2 separate regions of the Homo sapiens genome follow, and region 1 is linked to region 2. Evidence: promoter capture Hi-C in 16 types of primary human blood cells and fetal thymus (Javierre and others, 2016). All regions are on one chromosome and are shown on one strand. Each heading gives the region's core, a stretch centred on a gene start or on the middle of the fragment in contact. The rest is flanking DNA. Distances are from core to core; before and after follow the strand shown.

Region 1 (3,394 bases), core at 157-2,656, 360 kb before region 2:
ATTTGAGCTCAGCTCCTTAGGTCGTTGCTGGTGTTAAAAGAAAAAATTCAGCTGAATTTAATTTAAAGGACGGTAATTGAGCAAAGAACAATGTGCTAATTGGGGAGACTCCTAAGCCACAGTAGGCTCAGAGACTCTAGCACAGCCACGTTGGGGAAGAAGATTTATGAACAGAAAAAGGAAAGTGACATACAGAAAACAGAAATGAGGTACAGAAACAGCTGAATTGGTTACAGCTTGGTCTTTGCAGTATTTGAACACAGTGTGAATAGTTGGCCACCTTCAACTGGCCAAAACTCAGTGATTGACTCAAGAGTAGGCTACGGTCTGTGTAAAACTCCATTTAGGTTATAATTCACGATGTACAGGAAACCTTTAGGCTGAACTTACAATATATAAGAAGGCAGTTTTAGGCTAAACTTGATTTAACACTAGCGTTTCACAATCCCAACCCAACCACCATTTTCATCTTTTCCCAAAACTTACACCTATCAGAATCATACCAAAATTCATCTGATTTGAAAAAGTAATAAACTAGCAAACAAATAAATAAACAAGCTTATCACGGAGTGCGGTAAGCACTAAGAAGAAAGCAAATATGATGTGTCGACCCTGACTGCAGGCAGTGGCCGATGCCCCTTTAGCCACAGTAGCCCCAGAAAGGCTGCTCTGTGGAGTAGTCCCTGAACACTCCGTAGCCTGACATTCCTCCCATATTTCCATTCTCAGTCCCCACCCCTCCACCTGCCTTCAGCACTCCCTACCCCTCCTCCCCACCTTTTCTCATAACTCTTGTATCTCTTTGACACTGTTTATTTCTTATTGTACCTATTGTTAGACCACTCAACTATAAAGCTATGTGAGGGTAGGTTTTTTTGTATGTTTTGTTCACGACTGTATTCCCAGAACCTAGAACAGGGTTGGGCACACAGCAACTGCTTAATAAATACAGGTTGAATAAATCAAAGTAGTCTCCATTTATCCCTGGCACTAAGAGCATGAGCTAACTACTCAGGCAGGAGCCAGCTTTGCAAACTTCTGGCAGTTCTCAGAGGAGCCCTGGGCAAAGTCATCTCTTTGATCTTGCAGAACCAAAAGAAAGCCCTAACCACATTAGCTCCCCCACAATTGCCTCACCACAGCCTTGCCACAGGAGCAGAGTCTAGTCTGGAGAGATGTCCAGAACACAGGACACAAAATTCTTAAGAAGATTCTATGCTTGTTTGGATCACGCCCCAAACCCAGATGTCACCCCTGCTTCTTCTTTTTCCCTCACCCCTTTCCCCCACTTCGAGTCCTCTTCACTCCATTGCCAAATCTATTTTGAAGCTGCCCACCTTCTCTCTGTCTCCTCTGCCACCATCCCTTTAACCTGGGCCATGGCAGTAGCCCCTCAAGGTAGTCCCTCAGCTCCTACTCTTGGCCCTTCCTGTTCAAGCTCCATGTAGCATCCAGAGGACTCGTTTAAAAATCTAGGAGTATGTTTTCCCTGCTTAAAATTCTTCAACAGCTTTTCTCTGCTCTTAGAATAAGATTCAAACTCACTAAAAGTCGTCTCCTGCCTCTTTGGCCCTCGCTGGCTACACTCAAGCCCTACTGACAGCCTCTTTTGTCCTTTTCATGTGCACCAAGTTGTTCCTGTTTGTTCTAAATGTTCCCTCTGCCTATAATCCCCTTTCTCATCCTCAGGGCTCTGCTCAAACGCCTCCTTTTGGGAGAGGCCTTCTGGCCTGGCTACCTGAAGGTGTACCCTGCCTCCATGATTATGCTGTGTCACATCATCATGACTATTTCCTTCCTCACACTTATCGTGCTGTACTTTTCTTTGTTTATTAGTGCCTTGCCTGCCTTCCCCATTAGAGTGTGAGTTCCCTCAGTGTAGGGGTCTGTGTCTTTCTAATTCACCTCCCTTCTCCCAGTGCCTAGCATGTGATAGGTGCTTAATGAACATCCTTTTAAAGGAATAAATAGAGGAGCCTCTACTTACTCACATCTTCGGTATACACAGAGACACACTCATAGTCACACATACACACACAGACACTCATAGCCATGCATCAGCATACACACACAAGCAGAGGGGCACACACGCGTGCACACACACACAATCGAGGTTGCAGTCACTATTGACTCTGGTTGCAACCTTTTCTTCCTGCTTAGCCTCTTACAAGCCTTTGCCACTTTTGACATTCCCTCCATTGGAAACCACCTTCTTCCCCACAAGGCTGGATTATTCCATGTCCTTCTAAGCTTCTGGGACTTTGCTTTTCCCTCTGACCAATATGCTTTGCCAACCCTCCTATACCAGTTCATCCCTCATCCATGCTTCAAGGTGAGGTTCAAACATTATTTTTTCTTTGAAGTGTTCACAGAACCTGACGTCTCCTCTCTTCCTTTGTTATATCACTAACAGAATATCTGTCATGCTGTGTTTTTTGTTGTTTTTGTTTTGTGCTTCTGTCTCCCAGGTAGAGTGTGGAATTTTCTTGTGAACAGGTGCATTTCTCATTCATGACTGTATTCCCAGGGCTGAATGGAGCAGGTATACATAGGAAGTGCTCAGTACATGGGAGTGGAATTGACTGGGAGGCCTGGCCATGAGAGACATGGATCTTATATAGCTCTGTGACCATCTCTGGTTCCTGCTTCCTTCAAGTGACTCCTTTTCCTAGTACCTCCTAAATGTGATCACCTCCTGAGTTTTCCCTCTCCAGTCTCTGCTATTTCTCCACAGTGTCCTCTAAAGATGTTCAGAGGTTAAAGTACCTCTTCGATTCCCAGCACACAGGAATCCCTAACCACATTAATTCTCTTTTGCATCCCTGAGGCCAGCCCTACCATCAACCTCTACAGCCTCTTCCTGGCCAGACAGCATCAGGGGATAGACTTTATTCCTTAAAGCGCCTCTGAAGAACCATTCTGACACTCATCTCATACATCCTATGTGACAGAAATAGGACACAGGTTTCTGCCTAATGCCAGGAAGACATGACCTTAGGAAATGACTACTCAAGATTCTTAAGGCTGGTGCTGTATGGGATGACAGATCACCTTTCATTATCCTCTGAAAATAGGAAGGACATCGCTGAAGGCAACTCAGTTCAGGAGGATACTCTACCTCCTCAGCTCATAGAGTTGGCTGTTAGAGACTGATTCCAATGAGGACAGTGTTTCTGTAAATGCATAATCAGGACATCTGATCACAAAGCTACAAAACAACAGCAAAACCTCTGAATTGAATGTGGTCACCAAGAACTTAGGACCACTCTCTTAGGCCATTGGTCTTAGAACTATATAGTAGCTCCACATGGGTGAGTTATGGAAAAAGCCAAGTAGGTACAATTCTAGAGTAACTATATCTTAGGTCCTCAACTCCCACCCATAGCACCCTAGC
Region 2 (3,379 bases), core at 96-2,595:
CAGTTATTATGTCTCCCATAAGTGTTTCTTTCCAATCCAGCCTTGAATATACCCAGTTCTTCATGAGACTGGCCCATGAGCTCCAGAGCAGGAAGATATAACTTACTCAACTCTAAACACTCCAGTTCCTGGCATAGTGTTGAGAAATAGCTGGTACTCTGGGGATATTAACTAATCAGAACTAAGATGACCTTCACATGCCAATTCCAATTCCCAGAAGTCTTCTCCCTTTGGGAGGATGCTGAGAAATTGTTTGTAGGTGTAAAGTATCAGTATGAATGTTTTTCCCCAAAATTTAGTTCCCTTGTATGTTCCTCGATAATCAGGAAATTCAGAATAAGGTTTTTGCTCAATAGCAATGCATCCCTTAGCTTCAGCTTTCTCATATAATTACCCCCATTCCCACCCCATCTTTAACTTGGTCTGTGTCTTTTATATTTGTTTGCATTGATCTGTCTATTTCTTCCATCCTTTGACAAGGAGTGTTTTAAAACATACTCTATTTTTTAAAAATATCTAAGAAAACCATTGAATCTAATTCTTATTTTATTAAATATTCTCTACTAAGAAGGACCCAGATCTAGGAGACAATTAAAATGTTTGCCAGTTCAGCATCTCAGACTCACTTCTGTTCTCAGCTTGATGATTTCAACATCTCCCTTTCCCCTTTACAGGGAGAACACAGTAATATAGATTATTGGTTTCAAGCTCCTTGTATAGTAAAAATGTCTTTAGAAAGCAAATATCAATCACGTTTTTAAAATAGCACAACATAGGTAAGCAAGGCTTTGCACACCAAGCAAGAATTTTTTTTTTTTTCTAACTCTGCCTCTGGGCAAGGAGAGCAAAGCATTGAAACATCTGAATCAACTGGTATCTCCACTTTTGTCACATGGCTAAATGGGGGCCTTTATTTTTAAACACATGATTGACACCCATCTCTCAGGTTTGGGTCAAATACGGGCCATCTTGTGGGCAGACAGAGGAATCAGATGACTTATGAGGTCCCTGCCAGCACTATGATTTGTCAGACAGAAATGTAATTATGTCCTTAGGTTAAAAAATGGGGGAGGGAAGCCAACACTACCTTGAAGAGCCTTCAAAACTATAATCTGCAAAAGTCAGTAAATGAATCAAGAAACCCCCTCCCCTTTCTTTTGATGCATCTGAAGCTAAGATTTAATTGAAACTGCCTAAAGAAGGAAATAAAATTAAGACAACTGACAACAGAGCAGGGGAGACTGGATTTGGTGGTGATGTCAGGTCATTAGACCCAGAGGGTGTCTCCTTCTTAACTGTGCAATTAGGACCTCAATAAAAGGTTCCAGCTCCTGCTGTCAGCTCACAGCCCGCTGCCCCACGTTCTACCTGCTCTCGCTTGTGAACTAGGTAAGTCCATCTGCTTGAGCATACTTGGGATTTCAGTTGCTGTTTTGCTTATATGTGAGATTGCAAGAGGATTTCAAAGGAAACACACTTTAAGTCTATGTCAACCCCTATTAATAATAATAAACTGGGAGCGCCAACCACCCAAATGCATTCCTTGATTATGGAACTTCTTTGATCATTTTCTTTTTAAAAAAAACATAAATTGTTTAGAAGTCATAGGCATGAATATTATTCAACAAGGCACAGGATCAGATCTCTATTGCAATGAAAATGTAGAAGCATTTAAAGGATGGGAAATGAATGAATAAGGGGTCGGGACATGGAATCATGTCTTCTTGGTTAAAGCATGTTGTTACCACCTGCAAACATAGGGGTTAATTTTCTTGGTGTGACTTATCTTTCCACTAGAAGCTTTGCTAACTTTAAAGGTTATACCCTCCTAACCGCAGGAGGCTAGACTGAGCCAAAGGGAGAGGAGAGCAGATAGACACTCTTGGATGAGGCTGGAAGAATGGGTCCAACTCTATTGGCTTCATTTATGCATTTCAATCCTTATGCTTGAGTTCTCTTATCACCTTCCTTTTGCAATGAAGCTTTCTCTGAGCACATGAATGTTGCTGTTTACTGAAGAGTGGGGTGAATTGTCTCTTCTAATACTTACCTATGCTGGGTCTGATTTCACCACAATGTCTGGTACAATACTAAATCACCCCTGGAGTTCAGATATAATATTTTAAGATACAGAATAGAGCAGGGGTTGCAGTGGAGATGGGGGAGGAACAAAAAGGATAATCTTGGTATCTCCTCCCTGAAGGACCCATCCTGGAAAATGAGCTTTGTTTATTCTTTCTCACAGCCTCTCCTGAGTTTGTAAAGATGCCTCAGCTCCTGAGAAATGTCCTCTGTGTAATTGAGACATTCCACAAATATGCCAGTGAGGACAGTAACGGGGCAACACTGACTGGCAGAGAGCTGAAACAACTCATCCAGGGCGAGTTTGGGGACTTTTTTCAGGTGAGCTTCTCACAGAGCTGTGTAAATTCTTTCCAACTCACCCTTTCTTTATAATCCAAGCAAGATGAGCATATGTGATCCCCATCCATTTTACACCTAGCTAACAGTTCTCAGCACTCACTGTCTCTTGAACAACTATTTTCAGTCTCAGTTCCATACTCTGTGCAATTACTTAGAGAAAAAGAGGTTTTCGTCACTGGGATTATTGCTTCTGCAAAGCTGACTTCTGAAAGGAGTCATAAACCATTATGCATCAAAATGCAACTCACAAGTGTTGTAAATGCTCTTTCTCAGGCATAGCTCTCTGATGAAAAATGGCTTGCAGAACCAATAAGTTCTTGCTGTTCTGGGAAAGTTAACCAGTTACTGAGGAATGAGGTCAGAAAAATAGGATTCTTGGGAGACACTTAGGACACTGGACCACATATAAATAAGCTGATTTCTCACTGTGTTTTCATGCAGCCCTGTGTCCTTCATGCTGTGGAAAAAAATTCAAATCTTCTGAATATTGACAGTAATGGCATCATCAGTTTTGATGAATTTGTTCTTGCAATCTTCAACTTGTTGAACCTCTGTTATCTTGACATAAAATCATTACTAAGTTCTGAACTAAGACAGGTGACTAAACCAGAGAAGGAGAAGCTAGATGATGTGGATGTTCAGGCAACCACCGGAGATGGTCAGTGGACAGTGGGAACTTCACCAACTCAAGAAAAGAGGATGCTTCCTTCAGGAATGGCATCATCATCTCAGCTCATCCCTGAAGAAAGTGGAGCAGTTGGAAATAACAGAGTGGACCCATGGAGAGAAGCCAAGACTCACAACTTTCCAGGAGAAGCATCTGAACACAATGATCCTAAGAACAAACACCTGGAAGGAGATGAACAAAGTCAGGAAGTGGCTCAAGATATACAAACAACAGAAGACAATGAAGGCCAACTTAAGACAAATAAGCCAATGGCAGGATCAAAAAAGA

What was found. Contacts are between HindIII fragments. The CHiCAGO score rates a contact against its expected background, and 5 or more counts as called.
Region 1: a contact is called between a fragment that was not itself captured here and the fragment with the promoter of TCHHL1 in region 2, in 3 of 17 cell types (M2 macrophages, non-activated CD4 T cells and M0 macrophages). The highest score is 5.9, in M2 macrophages.

What each region holds. Positions count from the first base shown.
Region 1 is chr1:152,445,965-152,449,358 of GRCh38, reverse strand. No RefSeq gene overlaps it. Among named protein-coding and RNA genes, the nearest start is that of CRNN, 33 kb to the right of the region's middle. The HindIII fragment of the contact is 1,692 bases long and covers 561-2,252 here.
Region 2 is chr1:152,087,030-152,090,408 of GRCh38, reverse strand. It overlaps TCHHL1 (trichohyalin like 1), which reads left to right and starts at 1,345. Exons shown (of 3, transcript NM_001008536.2): 1 at 1,345-1,389; 2 at 2,246-2,403; 3 at 2,866-3,379. The coding sequence starts at 2,266. The HindIII fragment of the contact is 6,885 bases long and covers 1-1,802 here.